Linked DNA regions of Homo sapiens: region 1 is linked to region 2. The links are contacts of gene promoters, found by promoter capture Hi-C in human tissues and cell types (Jung and others, 2019). All regions are on one chromosome and are shown on one strand. The core of a region is centred on a gene start or on the middle of the fragment in contact, and the rest is flanking DNA. Distances in the headings are between cores, read along the strand shown.

The links. Contacts are between HindIII fragments. The study calls those that stand out against the background at their distance.
Region 1: a fragment that was not itself captured here is called in contact with the fragment with the promoter of LRRC8D in region 2 in 1 of the 25 tissues and cell types used here (hippocampus).

What each region holds. Positions count from the first base shown.
Region 1 is chr1:89,658,557-89,665,313 of GRCh38, forward strand. All of the region lies in intron 1 of LRRC8C (leucine rich repeat containing 8 VRAC subunit C), which reads left to right. It also overlaps the pseudogene LOC100505788. Among named protein-coding and RNA genes, the nearest start is that of LRRC8C, 29 kb to the left of the region's middle. The HindIII fragment of the contact is 4,002 bases long and covers 3,251-6,757 here.
Region 2 is chr1:89,816,188-89,822,819 of GRCh38, forward strand. LRRC8D (leucine rich repeat containing 8 VRAC subunit D) reads left to right here and starts at 4,845. Exons shown (of 3, transcript NM_001134479.2): 1 at 4,845-5,104. LRRC8D-DT (LRRC8D divergent transcript) reads right to left here and starts at 5,607. Exons shown (of 1, transcript NR_185885.1): 1 at 3,987-5,607. RefSeq lists silencers at 4,374-4,433, 4,874-5,223, 5,324-5,423, 5,514-5,723, 5,595-5,814. The HindIII fragment of the contact is 15,684 bases long and covers 1-6,632 here.

The DNA of each region.
Region 1 (6,757 bases), core at 4,002-6,501, 160 kb before region 2:
TTTAAGGAAGATTATACCTAAATACCATTTCTATTTTTATATCAGGATCACCTATGAACAGGATTTAGGAAATCCTCATTATCTTTCCAAAACTACACAATTGATATAAAATTTAACATTTGTGTCATTATTTTTCATTCTGAGTGATAAACTATAAAATGTTTCTTGAAAATATGTATGTACCATATGCTGAAAACAGGCACATTTCTGACAGGGAAATGAACTACCTGTACTCTCATTTAGCTATTGGGTGAAGTGTAGATTCCACTGTTTAAATTCTTTAAAGTTTATAAGCGCCTGACCAAGAGGCTATAGAGCTAAAAGATTTATAGCCAAAGAATTAGGAGCCACTGCTAATGGAAAAGCAAACAAATTTTTAAAAAAAGTATCTGAGTATGTGTATATTACACTCTAAGTATGATATATATTTAAAAGTGTCTCTGATATTATAATGAGAGTTAATAGGAAATTTTAGGTTGTGTCTTCTCCAGGTTTTTTTTTTTTTTGTGTGTGTGTGTGTGTGTGTGTGTGTGTGTGTGTGTGTGTGTGTGTCTGTGATGAAGTCTTACTATGTTACCCAGTCTGGTCTCAAACTCTGGGGCTCAAGCAGTCCTCCTGCTTTAGCCTCCCAAGTAGCTAGACTGTGTCAGCCCAGCTATCCCAGTTTTTATGAAACACTTCTGTAAAGGAAAATACCCTTTCCTCCTAACTAATTCCTATATTCATTCAAGAAGGAATTCAACTCAGTTTTCAATTGTTTTGTTCTGTTACGGAATGTTAGGTTTAGTGACTTAGATTAACCAGTTCTAAAAACAGATTACCTGGGTTGTATGCAGGCCCCTCTGCTTACTGCTCTGTAACCCCAGGCAAGATATTGACCTTCCTAAGCCTCCATTTCTTGAGTAAGAGTAGGCTTATAGTACCTGGAGCCCAGAGATATTTGGGCGTTAAGTAATGTAATATGTATGATGCTCCTGACACTTCTAAGTACACAGTAAACCTTAGCTCGTGTTATGATGGAGGTGGGGTTTTCCTTTATACATAAAGAGAACTTCATTTTACAGTAACAGTAATTAATTGTTACTGTTAATAAAACTGTCAATAAAATGGTAATGAACTGTTACTCTAAAATAAAATGCTTATAAATATGGACCCCATCAGAACTACAGTTTTAATGTTCAAAGGATCATCTACATTGAGAAACTGTTTTGAGAGGTAAATCATTGCTGTACATGTGGACTAGCTCTGTGTCATGCAAAAGTGTTACTGCTCAGACAACTAGGTCAGGGGCTGGGCATGCCAAAATGAGCAACCTGGTCTCTGCCCTTACAGAATTTACAGTGTGGGAATGGAGATAGTTGAGAATATAAATAACCCAGGGGAGTGAAGAGGTGAAGAGAGCAAGTAGGAAAGTGTTGATCTTGGACTGCTTATGAAAATACTCAGCCACGGGCTTCCAAAATAGGACACTGCAGCTGTGGTCTGAGACCCCTTCAAATATTATCCAAGCAGCGTGCTCTTCTTGAGAGAGGGTGGGCTGTGTGGGGAAGCCTGACAGTCCTGATGTGGTGATCTGGGAATGGGTGGTGTCCAGGTAAGTATTAACCAAAGATGTGATATTAAAATATAAATTCATGGAGTACTGAAATCATTTTAAGTGAGTAAACCCTGCCTTTGATAGGCCCAGATAAAGCTCTGGTTTTTCCCTAAGACCTCACTTAGTGCGTAGCTGTACTTTTTATCACAAACAGAAGAAACAGATGTTTTGGGGAGAATAGGTCTCAACCTCACCTACATGTTGGAATCACTTGAGGACCTCTAAAACAAAACAAAACAAAAACCTCATGCCTGGGCCCCACCCCAGCGGTTCTGATTTAACTGCACCCAGGCATCAGTGTTTTTAAAACTCTCCAGATGATTCCAATGTGCAGCCAAGGTTGAGAGCCACTCTTCCTCCCTATCCTAGGTTTTATTTCCCCCCAGATGTTCCCTAATAAATTTCAGGAGACTAGCTCAGCCAAATTCTGTCAACAAGTTTTCCAATCAGAAGTTATTAATTTAATACCAGTCCATGTGTTTTCCCTTTGAAAACATGTGCACTTTCTGCATTTCAGTAAGTAATGTTGGCTCCTGGAGAAATACTCATCTTAAGCTCCTAGTGGAGCAAAAGAACCTTTCTCATCCAGCACCCTGCCTCCAGACAGCAAGCTCACCATCAAAACATGATTCACTGTCCTATTTTTCACATCTCCTTGGCATGACCAACCCTCAGATTTCGTCCTGTAACCATTTATTTGGTCATTTAACAATGGGTTGTTTCTTCCTAAATCTCTCATGCAGCAGTTTAAAGCCTGTAATGTGCAAAGTTGAAACATTTTGTATTTGGCACTGAAGTCTATCCATGGACATCCAGGCTCTGGACTCCTCTGGTAGCCTTTTGTATTCCTTTGCTTGTCTCAATTTACATAGTGTTTCTTTTTGTTTTGTTTTGTTTTCCAAGTTTCAGTTATTTACTAATCAGTGCAATCGCCAATAGATTACATCAACATGATTTCATGCATTTAGAGGAGAAGTATTTCCTGGTTAAGCGGAAAATTGTGTGGATGGCTTCTGGAAGACCTTCATTCTAAAGCAGCTTTATAGTGAAACATTTGTTAGAAATCTGGACCTTCTTTCTTCAGTTTGCTGTAATCCACAATTACTGAGTAGAACTTGTATTGATCATTGGGAGCCAGTTTGTTCCAGGGCTCTGGATTATTCTTTCTGTCCCAACTAACATCTGGATTGAACAATGCCAGACACGAGATACAGTGCTGCTCCAGTACCTCCAGCTCCAATGAATACAAAGAGGGAGATCAAGCTTAGATGCTTCTTGGACTGAGTGATGATGTGGTGGAGCATGTTTGCTGAAGAGGCCTCCGATTGGAAAGGAGAGAACCAGCCTAGCCACCAGGCTCTGGCCTAAGTAGTATCTCCATAGTGTTTCTTGATAGGTTCTGTTTCTACCACTTTACTCTTCTAATTAACAGATATCTGGTGAATGACAAATATGGGCCAGACACTCTTCTGGGCATTAGGGACAAAACATTTTGCAAATTGGGCAAAAATTTCTGCCCTCCTGGGACTTGCATTCAAGTGGGAGGAGAGAGAAAAGGAAATGCATAATTAGCTAAAATATATATAGTATGTTCAAAGGTGTTAAGTGCTATGGAGAAAAATAAGGCAGGGCAGGAGGAAAGGGAGTGCTATGGCTGAGATATGGTGTGATATTAAATTGGCTTTGCAGTATTATCTAAACAAGAGGAGGGTGAAGGCTTGGACCAGAGGAGTAGTGATAGAAATGGTGAAAAGTGGTTGCAATCTGGGTAAATTTCAGCAAGGCCTAAAGAAGGTGAAGGATTGAGCCCTGCAGATACCAGGAAGATGAGAATTCCAGACAGAGCTGTTGCAAATGCAAAAGCAGGAGTGAACCTGGGGTGCCAAGAAACCACTCTAACAGGGGCATCCGATCTTTTGGCCTCCCTGGGACACACTTGAAGAAGAAGAATTGTCTTGGGCCACACATAAAATACATTAATGATAGCTGATGAGCTAAAAGAAAAAAAATCACAAAATCTCATAATGTTTTAGGAAAGGAAAGCTTGCAAATTTCTGTTGGGTCATATTCAAAGCCATCCTGGGCCACAAGTGGTCTGCAGGCCACAGATTGGACAAGCTTGTGCTAGAAGGCCCAGTGTGGCTGGAGCAAAGCGAGTGTGCAGGAGAGGGCTATGAGACTGGTGTGGGGTGGGAGTGAGATTGCAGAGGGCCTTTTAGGACTTTTGTAAAGATTTTCGCTTTTTCACAGAGTGAGATGGAGAATTATTAGAGGATTTTGAATGGAGAAGAAACCCAGGATCATTCTGGTTGCTCACTTGAGATGACTCTCTAGGGGTCATTGGTAGAAGTGGAGAGACTAATCAGGAAGATATTGCAATAATCTTGCAATAATCTAATTGAGAGATGATGGTGGCTTGGATCGGGGTAGCAGCTAAGATGGGTCAGAAATCGTTGGAATCTGAATATATTTTTGTAGGTAAAACTTTTTGCCCTTATGTCTATGTAATATTTTTTGATATTCCTCTTAAAATAGAGCCCTAAACTCCAGTAAGGGACCTGAATAATGCTAGTTATAGCAAAAGGTTAACTGTCTGACTCTTGAATACCACAAATTTAGTATTGTGTTTTCAGCCCCCGCCATGGGGTAGATATTATTTTCCTATGTTTCTTTTTTTTAATTATTATACTTTAAGTTCTGGGATACGTGTGCAGAACCTGCAGGTTTGTTACATAGGTATACACGTGCCATGGTGCTTTGCTGTGCCCATCAACCCGTCGTCTACATTGGGTATTTCTCCTAATGCTATCCCTTCCCCAGCCTCCCATCCCCTGACAGGTCCCAGTGTGTGATGTTCCCCTCCCTGTGTCCATGTGTTCTCATTGTTCAACTCCCACTTATGAGTGAGAACATGCAGTGTTTGGTTTTCTGTTCTTGTGTTAGTTTGCTGAGAATTATGGTTTCTAGCTTCATCCATGTCCCTGCAAAGGACATGAACTCAGCCTTTTTTATGGCTACATAGTATTCCATGGTGTATATGTGCCACATTTTCTTTATCCAGTCTATCATTGATGGGCATTTGGGTTGGTTCTAAGTCTTTGCTATTGTGAAGAGTGCTGCAATAAACACACATGTGGCCGGACGCGGTGGCTCATGCCTGTAATCCCAGCACTTTGGGAGGCAGAGGCGGGCGGATCATGAGGTCAGGAGATCGAGACCATCCTGGCTAACACAGTGAAACCCCACCTCTACTAAAAATACAAAAAATTAGCCGGGCTTGGTGGCCAGCACCTGTAGTCCTAGCTACTCGGGAGGCTGAGGCAGGAGAATGGTGTGAACCCGGGAGGCAGAGCTTGCAGTGAGCCGAGATTGCGCCACTGCACTCCAGCCTGGGCGACAGAGCGAGACTCTGTCTCAAAAAAAAAAAAAAAAATACATGTGCATGTGTCTTTATAGTAGAATGATTTATAATCCTTTGGGCATAGACCCAGTAATGGGATTGCTGGGTCAAATGGTGTTTCCAGTTCCAGATCCTTGAGGAATTGTCACACTGTCTTCCACAATGGTTGAACTAATTTACACTCCCACCAACAGTGTAAAAGCGTTCCTGTTTCTCCACATCCTCTCCAGCATCTGTTGTTTCCTGACTTTTAATGATCGCCATTCTAACTGGTGTGAGATGGTATCTCATTGTGGTTTTTATTTGCATTTCTCTGATGACCAGTGATGATGAGCTTTTTTTCATGTTTGTTGGCTGCATAAATGTCTTCGTTTAAGAAGTGTCTGTTCATATCCTCTGCCCACTTTTTGATGGTGTTGATTTTTTTCTTGTAAACTTGTTTAAGTTCTTTGTAGATTCTGGATATTAGCCCTTTGTCAGATGAATAGATTGCAAAAAATTTCTCCCATTCTGTAGGTTGCCTGTTCACCCTGATAACAGTTTTGTTTGTTTGTTTGTTTGTTTTTTGCTGTGCAAAAGCTCTTTAGTTTAATTATATCCCATTTGTCAATTTTGGCTTTTGTTGCCATTGCTTTTGGTGTTTTAGTCATGAAGTCTTTGCCCATGCCTATGTCCTGAATGGTATTGTCTAGATTTTCTTCTAGGGTTTTTATGGTTTTATGTCTTACAGTTAAGTCTTTAATCTATCTTGAGTTAATTTTTGTATAATGTGTAAGGAAGGGGTGCAGTTTCAGTTTTCTGCATACGGCTAGCCAGTTTTCCCAACATCATTTACTAAATAGGGAACCCTTTCCCCATTTCTTATTTTTGTCAGGTTTGTCAAAGATCAGATGGTTGTAGAGGTGTGGTGGTATTTCTGAGGCCTCTATTCTGTTCCATTGGTCTATATTTGTGTTTTGGTACCAGTACCATGCTGTTTTGATTACTGTAGCCTTGTAGTATAGTTTGAAGTCAGGTAGTGTGATGCCTCCAGCTTTGTTCTTTTTGCTAAGGATTGTCTTGGCTATGTGAGCTCTTTTTTGGTTCCATATGAAATTTAAAGCAGTTTTTTCTAATTACGTGAAGAAAGTCAATGGTAGCTTGACAGTGATAGCATTGAATCTATAAAATTACTTTGGGCAGTATGGCCATTTTCACGATATTGATTCTTTCTATCCATGAGCATGGAATGTTTTTCCATTTGTTTGTGTTCTCTCTTATTTCCTTGAGCAGTGGTTTGTAGTTCTCCTTGAAGAGATCCTTCACATCCCTTGCAAGTTGTGTTCCTAGGTATTTTATTCTCTTTGTAGTAATTGTGAATGGGATTTCACTCATGATTTGGCTGTTTGTCTATTATTGCTGTATAGGAATGCTTGTGATTTTTACACATTGATTTTGTATCCTGAGACTTTGCTGAAGTTGCTTATCAGCTTAAGGAGATGATGATGGGGTTTTCTAAATATACAATCATGTCATCTGCAAACAGAGACAATTTGACTTCCTCTCTTCCTATTTGAATATCCTTTATTTCTTTCTCTTGCCTGATTGCCCTGGCCAGAACTTCCGATACTACGTTGAATAGGAGTGGTGAGAGAGGGTATCCTTGTCTTGTGCCAGTTTTCAAAGGGAATGCTTCCAGCTTTTGCCCGTTCATTATGATATTGGCTGTGGGTTTGTCATAAATAGCTCTTATTATTTTGAGATACATTCCATTAATACCT
Region 2 (6,632 bases), core at 3,595-6,094:
GCTGGGTGACAGGGCAAGAACCTGTCTCGGAAAACAAACAAACAACAAACAAACAAACAAAAAACAACCCGCAAGAGTTTAAATAAGTCTGAGAAGTGAAATGGGTTTAACCCATATAAAGAAAGTTTGAAATGGGTCTAACCCATATAAAGAATAGAAAGAACATTAAAGTAGTAGGTAGCGCAGGGGAGGAAAGAAAATGAGAAAACATTTGTTTTACCATTTACTTAGGCTGAACTCCTACCATGTAATTTTAAAGCATCATATGTATTGAGTTCCTGTCTTTTAAAAATAAAGTGCTCTAGATATTGCATATTATGTTAGTTATGTTATTAAGAGACACACTAGATTGAGAAATTTGATCACACTTATAATATGTGGTTGTACTTAGGTAACATTTACTGAGCGATGCCTATTAAGCAGTTGGCTAAGCCCTTTCCACATATTATGTCATTTAACTCTTTCCCTCATAATCAACTGAGGTATGTATTAGTATTCCCATTTCAGAGATGAGGAAACTGAGAGAGGTGAGAGAGAGGCTCAAATAATTTGAAACTCTTCAGCATTACTACCACTTTCAAGCAAATATACTGTACATTTATTTGTGTATGACTATGCAGGTATATCCATATTTAGCCCACCAGGGCTATTTTTCATTTTCCAACGAATTCATCATGACATTACTCATAAGCCACCTCAGTGCATTTGAGATCAATTTATAAAGTTTGATTGCTGCAAAATTTTTCAAAAACATGTTTACAGATTATTGAAACCCATATTGCCTACCATATGTTAGGCACTCTGCTAGGTGATAAAATGGAAGAATGCAAAATCACTCCTCCAAGGAGCTCAGATTCTTCTTTTGTAGGAAAGTCAATTATTCATTCCCTCATTCAAAAGTATTATTGAGTGTCTTGGAGCATGCTATAGTTTAGGTAAGAACAAATCAAGTTAGAATCATCATACTTGGTAAGAGGAGATGCACAAATAATGCCCTTTATCTTACATGGTCCTTTTAGGCAGTACTGTGATTAAGTGCTTGGACCTCTAGAGCCAGGCCACCTGACCTAAAAAGGTAGCTCTGTCAGTTAAAGGCTATGTGGTATTGAGCTAGTCACAGAGCCTCTTTAAAGCCTTCTGTTTCCCATCTATTAGATGAGGATAGTATCTCATAGGGCTGCTGTGAAGACTTAAGGTATGTGTAAAGTATTTGGAAGAGGACCTACGTAAGTATTAGTTGTTATTGTTGATACAGATTTACCATGTGCTGAAACAGTTGCCAATTCTCATAACAAGTAGCAAAGGATAGTAAGTGCTCTATTTTTTGTTGAATAGAACTTCCTAGAAGCCATGTGTTTCTCTGTAGATATGTCTAGAGTAGCCTCAGATTCCTTTTCCATCATATTTCTTAATTCTGAACCCAACATCAAATCAGTTATTGTCCTTTGCTGCCTCCGTTCTGTTTTTTTGTGGAAAAGGGGAAACTGATGGGCTGATTTTTTTGTTTCTGTTTTTACATCATAGATAATCAGAGTTATTTTTCATTACTTATCATTGGTAGACTTCTTACTAGTTTGATCCATGCTATAGTCTGAATATTGCGTCCCCCGCCCCTCCATTTTATATGTTGAAATCCTAACCCCTAAACTGATGGTATTAGGAGGTCATTCCTTTGGGAGGCGATTAGGTCATGATGGCAGAGCCTTCATGAATGGGATTAGTGGCCTTAAAAAGGAGGCCTGAGAGAGACCCTCACTCCTTCCACTATATGAAGACACAGCAAGAAGTCACCCTCTCTGAACTAGAAAGAAGACACACACACACACAGACGTGGAATCTGCTGTTGCCTTGAACTTCCTAGCCCCCAGACTATAGGAAATAAAAATTTTTTTTTTTTTTTTTTTGAGACAGAGCCTCACTCTGTCACCCAGGCTGGAGTGCACTGGCATGATCTTGGCTGATTGCAACCTCCACCTCCTGGGTTCAAGTGATTCTCCTGCCTCAGCCTCCCGAGTAGCTGGGATTACAGGTGCCTGCCACCACTCATAGCTAATTTTTTTATTTTTAGTAGAGACAGGGTTCCACCATGTTGGCCAGGCTGGTCTCGAACTCCTGACCTCAGGTGATCCTCCAGCCTAGGTCTCCCAAAGTGCTGGGATTACAGGCATAAGCCACCATGCCCAGCCAATTTCTGTTGCTTATAAGCCACCCAGCTTATGGTATTTTGTTATAATAGCCTGAATATACTCTAAAACAATCCTTTAAATTTTTAAAATTATTATTCTGATTATCAGAGTAATATGTGCTCAATATAAAAACAATTCAAACATACAGAACTTGATGAAAGGCCCTAGTAATCCCACACCCAGAGATAATCACCATTAACAGCTTGTTATATATGCTTCCAGACTTCTTCTGAAGCATACATTTAATAACATGTATATCTTAATGCAAAAAAGTACAAAAAAATGGAATCATACTATTCATATTGTTCTGCAGCCTCCTTTTTTTTCACTTATAGATTTTGGACATCCTTCCATGTAGGTACAAATAGATCTAGCTTATTTTTGTTAATGGCTGCTTATGGTTTCCTTCTACAGATCTAGCAAAATTTGCTTAAACAGTTTCCTACTGGGACTTTATTATTTGATTTTTACACCATTACATGTTCCCACTATTACAAACAATGTTGCAATAAGACACGTATATATATATTTTTGTACATGTGTAAATATTTCTGACATAATTTTTGCACAAATATGCTTAAAGCACAAACTCTTAGACATGGACTTACCTATTCAAAGGGAACACACCTATTTATCAAAAATTTCCAAATTGTCCTCCAAAGGGGTTTGTCCAATTTCCTCTTACTTTTACAGTGTGTGAGTGTCTATTTCTCCACATTTGACTGTTTTCTGAATATCACTTTTTTCTTTTCTCGATTTATACCAATCTTAAAATCATGTTTTTCAAGTCTAGAATCACAATTTAAAACCCAGGGAAGATCAAAAGAACAAAGTACAGAAGATTGGTTTTTTTGGTTTTTTGGTTTTGAGATGGAGTCTCACTCTGTCGCCCAGGCTGGAGTGTGGTGGCACCATCTCAGCTCACTGCAACCTCCGCCTCCCAGGTTCAAGCGATTCTCCTGCCTCAGGCTCCTGAGTAGCTTGGATTACAGGTGCGTGCCAACATGCCCAGATAATTTTTGTGTCTTTAGTAGAGACGGGTTTTCACCATGTTGGTCAGGCTGGTCTCTAACTCCTGACCTCGTGATCCTCTTGCCTCGGCCTCCCAAGGTACCGGGACTACAGGCGTGAGCCACTGCACCCGGCCTATAATTTTTTTTTTTTTTTACAAACAGCAAAACATTCCATATTCATTATAATAGTGGGCTGTTTTCAATAAAAATATCACACCACTAGTTGTTAAGTTTTAAAAGACCTCTCATCTCTTAGATCAGCAAATCTGACACTGATTAGATCACTTACACACACTCCCTGCCCATACACCTCCTTCTTGGCAGTGTGTGGAACAGGAGTGGCTGCTGGCAAGGAGGGTCGGGGAAGGAAAGTGAGAGCAAAAGGGCCGAGGGCTCAGAATCTGGTGGCATCTTGTAACGGGTCTCGGGCAGTCCCTTGAGTGTATTCTGGACCTCTCTGTTCATGTTCCTGTTTGGGCTGCTCTTCTTCACGTCCAATGCCTGAGGGCCAAGTGCTCACCATCCAAGGGTCAATTCTATCAGCTCCTCTCTGAATCCTTTTCTGAAACCCTGGACAATCATTCTCTTTAATGTCTCACTGTCTCTGAACCGACACCTTCCTGAGTACCTGTAACATTTGTGCAGCATGCTTATTAAGAATATTTAGATGCTGGGTAAACGTTGATTGAACATTTGCTGACATGGAGAGATATTGGTAGAAGACAGATTAGACTTCCGATGGTTTACAGAAACACATGGATTCAGATAAAAGAAGATATGAAAGCACTGGGTTGAACCACATATTTTATTACAACCAAATAACTCCAAATATCCCGCCTTAATTTATTTATTGGCCCCTGCCTCTGCTCACCCACAAAAAAGACTGCAAATGAACCCCGATCCTACAACAACAACAACAAAAAACGGTGACATTATCGGGCTGCAAAACCCTCTTAGCATAGAATAATCTTTTCATCTGCCTCTTTCAGATGTAACATATTTTTGACGAAAAGAATGGGATGAAAACGGCGGGCTCAGATAAAAACAAGAACCGACTTTCCAATACAGCTTCAATAACAGACGGAACACATGAAGCTGAGAAACTCTCCATGCCAAGTAGTAGTTGTGTGTGCCCCAAAGCTCAGATAAGTACTTCTCCTTAGAGTTGGAAGGCACTTAAGTGACTTTTTAACGTAATTCAACTCCCCACCCCCAGCGCCAAGTCTTAATATCAGAGTTTTAGTCGACGGGACAGCCTCCTTCGCCCAGGACGGGTGAAGGCTCCTGACCATGCCTCGCAGCTAACTGGCAGCTGCGCCTGCCCGGCACCGAGCCCTGCCCAGGTGGACGCTTGCGAGAGCATTACGGCGATGGTTATGTAGGCTGCCGTTCTTCCCCTCCCAAGCACCTGCTCCGCATCTAGCAGTCGCTCGCCGCCAGTCTCCAACCCCGGGTCCCCTCCCTCGCCACACAGACCCCGTCCGGTCAGGCGCTGCAGGGCCACCGGAGAAAGCGCTCGCAATCACATGGAGGCCCGGGCCCGCCCCATTGGCTGCGGCCGGGCCAGTCGCGGCACTCGCCGGCTGCGGTTGGTCCCAGAGCTGCAGCGCCTGCACGGGCCCGGAGTCCATGTTACGCTTTGTCTAATTCCCCTCGTTACAGAGTCATGTGCTGCTGCTCCCGTCGCCGCTGCTGCCGCTGCCGCTGCCGCCGCCCGTGGTGCCCCGGCTCCTCCGCCGCGCTTCGAGGTGGCAGCCGCGGGCGGGGCCGCGGGAGCAGGGTCCAGGGTGCAGCGCGCCTTCGCCGCCCCGGCGCGTCCCGGTGCAGCCGCCGCCCGCCGCGGGTGATGCCGCCACCTCCGGCCTCAGCATAAGCCGTGGCTTGGCGGCCGAGCTGCACCCCAAGGTTGGTGCGCACCTCTCCCGGCAGGGGCCGGGGGCTGCGAGGGAAGGCGACGCGCAGGTGGAGCCGCGCCGAGCCGGAGCGCGCAACCCTGGCGCAGGCGCCGCGGCCCGAGCTGCGGTTGCGGCCGGGAACTCATTCGGGGACGTCCGGGGGTCGGGAGGAGGTGGCGGCGAGCGGAGTGGGCTCCCGTTTGCTGCCGCCAGGGCCTGGGAGATTGTTCCGCTTTCTGCAGTCTGAGCGTCGGCCGCTTCGGCCCCGGGCGGCCGGCCCTGCGGGAGGGGAGTGCGGCTTCCTGGCTCCTGAACCCCTCGCGCGCGCTCCCTTCTCTCACCTCCCTCCGCCCTATCGGAAAGGCGGGGAGAGCCGGTTTCGGCTCTGCTGGTTCCTCCCGGAGGTGGGTGTTTGGTGTCTGGCCTTGCTGGCCCGGCGTCCAAAGGTGAGCCCTTTAACTTCTCCAGAATCGCCTCCCCTCCGCTTCCTTCCTGTGCAGGGTGGGCTGCGCTGGGAGCCCGGCGGGCGGGGGCGGGGAGGTGAAGGCCCGCGCCCCGCCCCCCGCGCCTGTGGGAGGGAGCTGGGGGCCCGCAGGTGCACCCAGCCGTCCGCGGGCCGTCTCCGGGTTGGGTACCGGTATAATCCGCTTCTAGCTTGTTTGGAGGCGTGGGCTCTTGGGAGCGGGACTTCTGCTCAAATCCTGTCCAGGGGCTTGAAAAGGAGGAGAATTGGGGGTGGTTGCCGGGAGGACCAGCACCTCCAGTTACTGGAGGGTTGATAGGGGCCTTCTCCTTTCCGTCACCCTTTACTAGGGGGTATCCCTTGCAGATAAATGAGATTTTTTGATTTCTTAAAAAGCCAGCTGCAGTGAAGAAGAACTGCTGCAGGTCGAGGGGAAGAGAGGTAGGTCCTTGCTGGAGAGGGAGAGGTGGGCTGTGAGGTTCCAGGAGCACGCACTTGGGGTGTGTGTGGCCGAAAGTATGGAGGTAGGGTTGTGGGAAGGAAACAGCCGAGATGAGAGGGAGGGCGCACTCAGGATGTAGGCGGAGAGATGGGGAATAGGTACTGGGGAGTCCTAGCGGAATGTGGGGCCCAGCTGGAGCCGCTTGGCTTATATTTGGCTCCTCGTTGCCTCGCAGATTTCCTGCTCTTGGATCTTCAAAAATATTTTTTTGTTGGACAAAGAAAACTCTGAGGACATATTTTGGAAGAGCTGATTTCTGGAAACTTTCCTTGGCAGCTTTGATAGTAAAATTCCGTACAGGCAGCGTTTATTGAGCACCTATTACGTGGTTTGTACCGGACTTTGGAAGAGTCTGGACAGGCAGGGAATCCCCGTTTGCAGTAATGATGAGGGCTGTCTACCTTATAAACAAATAAGGGGCCCCTCCCAGTGCCAAGAATGAGAGTGATCAGACCTTCCTCGCCATAGCATCTGGGACCTCTGCTTCTTACAGACCTGTGGGAAGAACCCTGCACCATATCCTGTAAATGGGGTCCTCAGGCAGCATTTATTTTTGCAGTCCAAAAATAGTGA